Regions from separate parts of the Homo sapiens genome. Here region 2 is linked to region 1. Evidence: promoter capture Hi-C in 16 types of primary human blood cells and fetal thymus (Javierre and others, 2016). All regions are on one chromosome and are shown on one strand. The core of a region is centred on a gene start or on the middle of the fragment in contact, and the rest is flanking DNA. Distances in the headings are between cores, read along the strand shown. Region 1 holds the start of C14orf119 (chromosome 14 open reading frame 119). Region 2 overlaps DAD1 (defender against cell death 1).

Region 1 (3,454 bases), core at 853-3,352:
CAACTTTCAAGCAACAAGACATCTTACCACACTCAATTAGCATCTACAGAGAAAATTACTTTTTATGAATTCAAAGACCCAAAATAATAAGAGTCCTTTATTTAGATTATTATCCAACTACCTTAGAAAAATCACCAAAAATAACTTCATTTCCTATTTGCCTGCCTTTTTCAAACCCATTCTTCCCCACCCACTGTCTTCCTCCATCTTTCTTATAAAGAACCTAAAAATAACCAATATATTTCTTGTTCATTCTCTTCCTCTTACTTCTATGTGCCAGGTTGGGTAAAGAAAAAAACAATGATTAATGTTGGTCCATTACATCTTCTCCAAAATGAAAATGCACACATTTTAAAATCTAGTACGTGCAGCTGGTCAAGGCTGATGCTAATTGTTTTGCAGCTATCAACAGTGGGGGAAGAAAGAAAAAACATTATTTATGATGAAAGAGCCTTCAATGTGCATATAAGCCTCTGAAATATGCCAACAACTCCATAACATCCGTTACCTCCTTACATTTCCTGTAAAGCACCAGGAAAAGTTAAAAAGCAGAGTAAGGACCTTGCTCAAAATAAGGTAACGCATGAAAGAACCAGAAGCCCGGGTGTTTGAGACGTTCTTAAAAAAGAGTCCAGTTGGTTTGTTGGCTTAGAGATCTAACAAGTGTTATACTATTTTATGACAATCCATGTCTTTAAACAATTGTCCTTAATATTTAGTATGGGCCAGACGCGGTGGTTCTTGCACTTCCAAAGTAATCTCAGCACTTTGAGAGGCCGAGGCAAGAGGATCGCTTGAGCCCAGGTGTTCGAGACCAGCCTGGGCAACATGGCAAAACCTCATCCCTACAAAAAATAAAAAAATTAGTTGAGCGTAGAGGTGCCTACCTGTAGTCCTAGCTACGTAGGAGACTGAGGTAGGAGCATCACCTGAGCCCGGGAGGTTGAGGCTGCAGTGAGCCCTGATCGCGCCACTGCACTCCAGCCTGCGTCAGAGTGGAGGGACCCAGAGTGGAGTGACAAAAAAAAAATTTTTTTTTTTTTTTAGTATGGTATCTATTGGTGCCTTGCAATTTTTTTTTTTTTTTTTTTTTTTTTTGAGACGGAGTCTTGCTCTGTCACCCAGGCTGTAGTGCAATGGCGTGATCTCAACCACTGCTTCCTGGGTTCAAGCGATTCTCCTGCCTCAGCCTCCCGAGTAGCTGGGACTATAGGCGTACGCCACCACGCCCGGCTAATTTGTTTGTATTTTTAGTAGAGACGGGGTTTCACCATATTGGCCAGACTGGTCTCCAACTCCTGACCTCAAGTGATCCGCCCGCCTCGGCCTCCCAAAGTGCTGGGATTATAGGCGTAAGCCACCGCGCCCGGCACCTTGCCACTGATTTTGCATCATGAATGCAACGGAAAGATCAGCCAATTTGACTTTAATAGTTTTCAGTCTCTTAAATCTCTAACGTATCTCTTAAATCTCTAAACTATTTGTCTGTGACCTATTTTACTGTTTGTGTTTCTTCTGCATCAAGTTGGAGGATTGGTAGTGACAAAGAAAGAAGCCCCTAAACAATTAATATTAGTTCAAGTACCAAAAAAGTTCAGGGCGCTTGCATTTTCCAGTTCTTGCCCTACAGGAAGCAGTTCCTCCAAGGGAACTTACTCTCTTCTGCGGAGCAAGGAAGAACTTTCCCAGAATCTTGCCACATGGCTTCCAAGGCAAACTCAAACTCAAGTTCAGCGTCATAGATCAGTTCATAGTCTGGGTCCGAAGACACGGCGATGCTTCTTGCGCACCCCCACGGAGCTTGTTATTCCGATTCCGCACCAGCCCCCCGCCCCTCCCCAAAAAAAGCCTAAGATGGGAGTGGCTATGATTCAGAGGACAGAGGGCAGAAGCTGTTTGCGTTAAGGAGTGGGGGGCTTGCCCTATTAAGGTAATCCGCAAACACCGAGTCTGACCCGGCCCATAGAGGTACTTCTACCCCGCTTACCTCCCCTTTTCTCTCGAAGGGCACCCGAAGATTGTCACGAGTCCTTAGACTCCAACTACTGCGGCAGCTTCCAAATTTCCTGAAAACCCTAAGCTGGGCCAGCCCGGCAGCCCACGCACTTCCGGCCTCGGACCCGCCCCAAACACCCAAGCGCCCCAGCGCCTCATCTCTAGGTCCGGAAATAAACGAACATCTCCGATTATGGTTATACCAGGGTCGAGGGTTTCCGAATATATTCGATTCAAAGCTTCGGCAAGACGAAGAAAACCGAGCCTGAAAGCAGGGCGAGAAAAGGGGCGCTGCAGGGCGGATGGAAAGAATTGATTGGTAACGATGTGGAGACGGAAACATCCGAGGACATCCGGAGGAACCCGGGGAGTTCTGAGTGGTAATCGAGGGGTAGAGTATGGCAGTGGGCGGGGTCATCTCGGTACGTTCGAAGGGCGTTGGCGGAAATTACCGAAGATGCCCGAAGCCGTCGGGACGGACCCGAGTACCTCACGCAAGATGGCGGAGCTGGAGGAGGTGACTCTGGACGGGAAGCCTCTTCAGGCGCTGCGGGTGACCGACCTGAAGGCCGCACTGGAGCAGCGAGGCCTAGCCAAGAGCGGGCAGAAGAGTGCCCTGGTCAAGCGGCTCAAAGGGGTGAGGAGTCGGCGTTGCTGGGGTGTCGGAGGAGAGCGGACCCGGTAGAGACGAGCCTCTGCCGCGGCGCAGGCGCAGTATCCGGGCTCGGCGCGAGCTCGCTCAGGCCGCCAGCGCGAGCCTCTGGATCCGCGCGCACGGTGGTTGATGAGGTTCGCGCTGGAATGGAGATCGCGCCGGTTCCCGCCTTAACGGCAGCAGCGCGAGCCCAAATGGGAGGGTGTGCACTACTCTCCAGGAGTGTCTTAAGCTCCTTCCTCCTTCCCCCACCCCCTCCTTGTTTGTATCTGTGGTTTCGGCGCATGCGCTGCAGAAGGAGTTAAATCCCACTACAACCTACGGCGTTGCTGGCCTGAGGGGGGCGAGTTGGGCTGGGTCGGAGTTAGGGGTATAGTTGCGCGAAGGGGTGGATGGGGTTGGTATCGGTATCTGCACGAATAGGACTGGGGTAGGGTAAAATGTCTGCTCGATTAGATGAGGAGGTGAGATGAAGAGAGACCTTTATTTGAAGGGACTTGATGAGAGAGAGGTCTCTAATTTAGTGGCATCTAGTGGCAATTTGGGTGGTTAAGAGTTTGGTGAATATTGGTGAGAGAGGCGAGGCAGGTTGATATATATTGGGGATTTTGAATCGGTTTGAGTAGATTAAGGTGGGATTGTCATGAGGTAGGTGTAGCTCGATTCAAGTGTATAGGTTTGGTTTAAAGAAGGGAAGATGAGGATGTCTTGGTTTTAATTAGAGTTCAACAGGATACGTGGCAGGTAGTGCAGATTAGGTCTGGGTTGGCTCCAGGGTTGAGTTGGCAGACCGTTGCTTATACA
Region 2 (3,931 bases), core at 1,395-3,894, 520 kb after region 1:
TTTTAGTGGAGATGGGTCTCACCATGTTAGCCAGGATGGTCTCGATCTCCTGACCTTGTGATCCGCCCGCCTTGGCTTCCCAAAGTGCTGGGATTACAGGTGTGAGCCACTGCGCCTGGCCTATTTTTATTTTTATTTTTATTTTTTTGAGACGCAGTCTCACTGTGTCGCCAGGCTGGAGTGCAGTGGCGCGATCTCAGCTCACTGCAACCTCCGCCCTTGGAGTTCAAGCGATTCTTCTGCCTCAGCCTCCCTAGTAGCTGGGATTCCAGGAGCCTGCCACTGCACCCGGCTAATTTTTTGTATTTTATTTTTAGTAGAGATGGGGTTTCACCTTCTTGACCAGGCTGGTCTTGAATTCCTGACCTTGTGATCCACCCACCTCGGCCTCCCAAAGTGCTGGGATTACAGGCGTGAGCCACTGCGCCCGGCCTTCTGCCTCTTTTTAACCTTGCGAACCATTATACTGTTCCACCGCTCTTATAACTGAATCCGTACTGTTTTCTGAGGCTTACCATGCCCCTCAGGATTTGGCCCTTGTGTCCTTCCCCTTGATCACTATAGTCTTGTTGGTCTGTCCTTGATTTTTTTTTTTTTTTTTTTTTTTTTTGAGATGGAGTTTTGCTCTTGTTGCCCAGGCTGGAGTGCAATGGCACGATCTCGGCTTACTGCAACTTCCGCCTCCCGGGTTCAAGCGGTTCTTCTGCCTCAGCCTCCTGAGTAGCTGGGATTGCAGGCATGCACCACCAAGCCTGGCTAATTTTTTGTATTTTTAGTAGAGACGGGGTTTCTCCATGTTGGTCAGGCTGGTCTCGAACTCCCGACCTCAGGTTATCCACCCGCCTCGACCTCCCAAAGTGCTGGGATTACGGGTGTGAGCCACCATGCCTGGCGTCTGTCCTTGTGTTTATAACATGTCAAGATTGTTCTTACTGTCTAGAATGCTCTGCCCCCAGATTTTTACATGGTTGGTTCCTTATCTTTCAAATATTGGTCTTAAATAGCAAGCTCTTAAAGAGACCTTCTGTTATGATTGAATTTAAGAAAAGCTTCCCAGTCACTCTTTATTATCCTGTTTTATTTTCTTCATAGTACATATCTCTACCTAGTAGTTCCTGGTTTATTTGTTAACTTATTGATTATATGTTTCTCTCCATAGGAGTGTAAGTTCCTTGAGAGCCAGACTGTTTTGTTCTGTGCCATATTCCTAGCACCTGAAATGATGCTTGTCATGTAGTAGATGTTTAGTAAATATTTTATGGAATAAATGGACATTTAAGGGGATAGAGTAAATCAGAATTGCTAAAATGGAACAGACTGCTTGAAGAGGTAGTAAATTTCCATCTTTGGAAGTGCCCAGGGAGAGACTGAAGGATCATTGGTAGTGGAGCATTTTGAACAGGCTTTTTTTTTTGCCTTTTTTGTTTCCAATGCATCTGAGAGATGTGATATCCTTATCAGTAACACAGGCTCTGGAAAGTTGATAATTCTCCATCTGGAGGTGGCTTACCAGATTCTGTAAGTGGTGAGTATACTTTGGAAAGCTTCCCACGTGATTAGTACGCCTCCCCAAGCATGGCCACCCCCTACCACCTCTTGGGCATTGTATACATCAAATGGGGTGTTGGTGTTTATGACCTCTGAGGTCCTTTCCAACTTTGTGGGACTCTGATTCATATGTTTTCATTGAAATAATCTGGTTACCATGATCACAATAATAATAACATCAATTTATTACCTTATCCACCTTCATGGATAATTTTTCTTTTTTTCCCTCATATTTCCTCAAAACTCAACACCGTGTTCTTTACTCCAATGACCACTATTAATAGTTTTCTATTTCTTCAGATTTTTTTCTAGATTCTAACTGAAATGACAAGATAATTATGTATATCATTATATGTAAATAAAATATTTTACTTTTTTTTTGAGACGGTCTTGATTTGTCTCCCAGGCCAGAGTGCGGTGGCATGACTGTGGCTCACTGCAGCCTGCAACCTCTACCTCCTGGGCTCAAGCAATCTTCCCATCTCAGCCTCCCGAGTAGCTGGGGCCATAGGTGTGTGCTACCACACCTGGCTAATTAAAACATTTTTTTTGTAGAGACAGGGTCTCCCTATCTTTCCCAGGCTGGTCTCAAGCTCTTGGGCTCAAGCGATCCTCCCACCTTGGTTTCACAACATGCTGGGGTTACAGTTGTGAGCCACCATGCCCTGGCCAAGTGAAATTAGGAATGGGCTGGGTGTGGGGGCTCATGTCTGTAATCCCTACCCTTAGGCAAGCAGAGGCGGGAGGATTGCTGGGCAACATAGGGAGACCTTGTCTTTACCAAAAACAAACAAAAAAATTAGCTAGGCATGGTGGTGCATGACTGTTGTCTCAGCTACTCAGGGGGCTGAGGTGGGAGGATTGTTTGAGCCCAGGAGGTCGAGGCTGCAGGGAGCCATGATTGCACCACTGCACTCCAGCCTGGGTGATGGAGTGAGACCCTGTCTCAAAAAAAAAAAAAAAAAGGATTGGCTTTTTTTCACTTAATAAGTCTTAGATATGTTTGCTGTCAATGTACAGAGAATTTACCTTATTCTTTTGAATAATTGCATGGGATTTCATTGCATGTCAGTTGTATAGTTTAATCCCCTTGATGTTTAGACTGTTTTAATTTTTTTTTCAACTTTACAAACATACTTTCAGAATGTCTTTGTTCTGTAAGATAAATTCCTTTGTCAAAAGGTAAAATCATTTTAAATATTAATGGATATTGCTAGTTGCTCTCCCAAGTGGATGAATGAATCTGTACTTTCTACAGCAGGGGTTTACACTGGTTACCCTTGCTTCAGTCATTGTCTTTAATATTTTTAAGGGTCTGGATACCTGAAAGGATCAATGGTGCTTCCATGGTGTTTACATGTTTAAGCATAATGAAAACTGTTGCCATGGTGACAGGCTCTGGAGAACTAGTCTGATAGTTTTCTGGCCTTTGGATTAGATTTGTTTGTTGCTTTTTCTTAGTTAATGATGGGATGATGCTAGCCTGAAGCGAGTTTAGGTTTTCTTAAGCAATGTAATAATTTATCACAGGCATAAAGATACTTCGGAAGAGTGTATTCCTGGAACTGCCTGTTTTTTTTTTTTTGTCAATGGTGACTGTTAGAATCTTCAAGGGGATGGAGTGTGGCAGTGGAGAGTTCTCATGAGTTATCTCTCTTAGGTCTTCTGCCTTTTTTGAGACAAATAAGCAGCTGCTAGAACTTCGAGATCAAAGATAGTTTATCGAGAACTGTGAGGTTCTCAAGAATGAGCGTGCTATCTTTATAAACTCTGCTACCCATTAAATGAATATTCTATTAGAAAATAATTCACATTTTTATAACTTTTTATCATTCAGCCCGGACCCTTTGTTGTTGCCTCAAGTGCATCCCCATCTAGGTATAATTAGAAACCTTTAAATCAGCAGATAAGAGAGCTTTGTGGGTTTTTTGGTTATATATTTTTTTCTTTGAGAAAGCCTCTAGGTTTCAGTGTAACTCTGAGAAGTAATATTTTTTTTCCTTTAACAGAGTGCGAAATTTAATTGTACAACTTGATAAATTTTTAAATGTACCTGTCTAACCACTATCCAGATCAAGATGCAGGACATTACCAGCACCATAGATGCCTCCTTGCATCTTCCCAGTTATCCTCTCCCTGTGAAAGATAAAAACCACTATCTTGCCATAGATTGGTTTTACCAAGTTTTAAGCTTTTTGTACATGGAATCATATAGCATATACTTTTTTGTTTTGTTTTGTTTTGAGACGGAGTCTCTCTTGCCCAGGCTGGAGTGCAGTGGCGCAATCTCGGCTCACTGCAACCTCCACCTCCTGAGTTTAAGCAAATTCTCCTGCCTCAGCCTCCTGAGTAGCTGGGATTACAGGTGCGTGCCACCATGCCC

Evidence for each region. Contacts are between HindIII fragments. The CHiCAGO score rates a contact against its expected background, and 5 or more counts as called.
Region 2: a contact is called between a fragment that was not itself captured here and the fragment with the promoter of C14orf119 in region 1, in 1 of 17 cell types (neutrophils). The highest score is 5.7, in neutrophils.

The regions. Positions count from the first base shown.
Region 1 is chr14:23,094,153-23,097,606 of GRCh38, reverse strand. It overlaps C14orf119 (chromosome 14 open reading frame 119), which reads right to left and starts at 2,102. Exons shown (of 2, transcript NM_017924.4): 1 at 1,988-2,102. ACIN1 (apoptotic chromatin condensation inducer 1) reads left to right here and starts at 2,471. Exons shown (of 19, transcript NM_001386863.1): 1 at 2,471-2,632. The coding sequence starts at 2,495. RefSeq lists enhancers at 1,668-2,191, 2,071-2,280, 2,301-2,380, 2,192-2,715, 2,421-2,730. The HindIII fragment of the contact is 5,470 bases long and covers 1-2,236 here.
Region 2 is chr14:22,578,423-22,582,353 of GRCh38, reverse strand. All of the region lies in intron 1 of DAD1 (defender against cell death 1), which reads left to right. Among named protein-coding and RNA genes, the nearest start is that of DAD1, 8.8 kb to the left of the region's middle. RefSeq lists an enhancer at 1-59 and a silencer at 1,935-2,097. The HindIII fragment of the contact is 2,195 bases long and covers 1,547-3,741 here.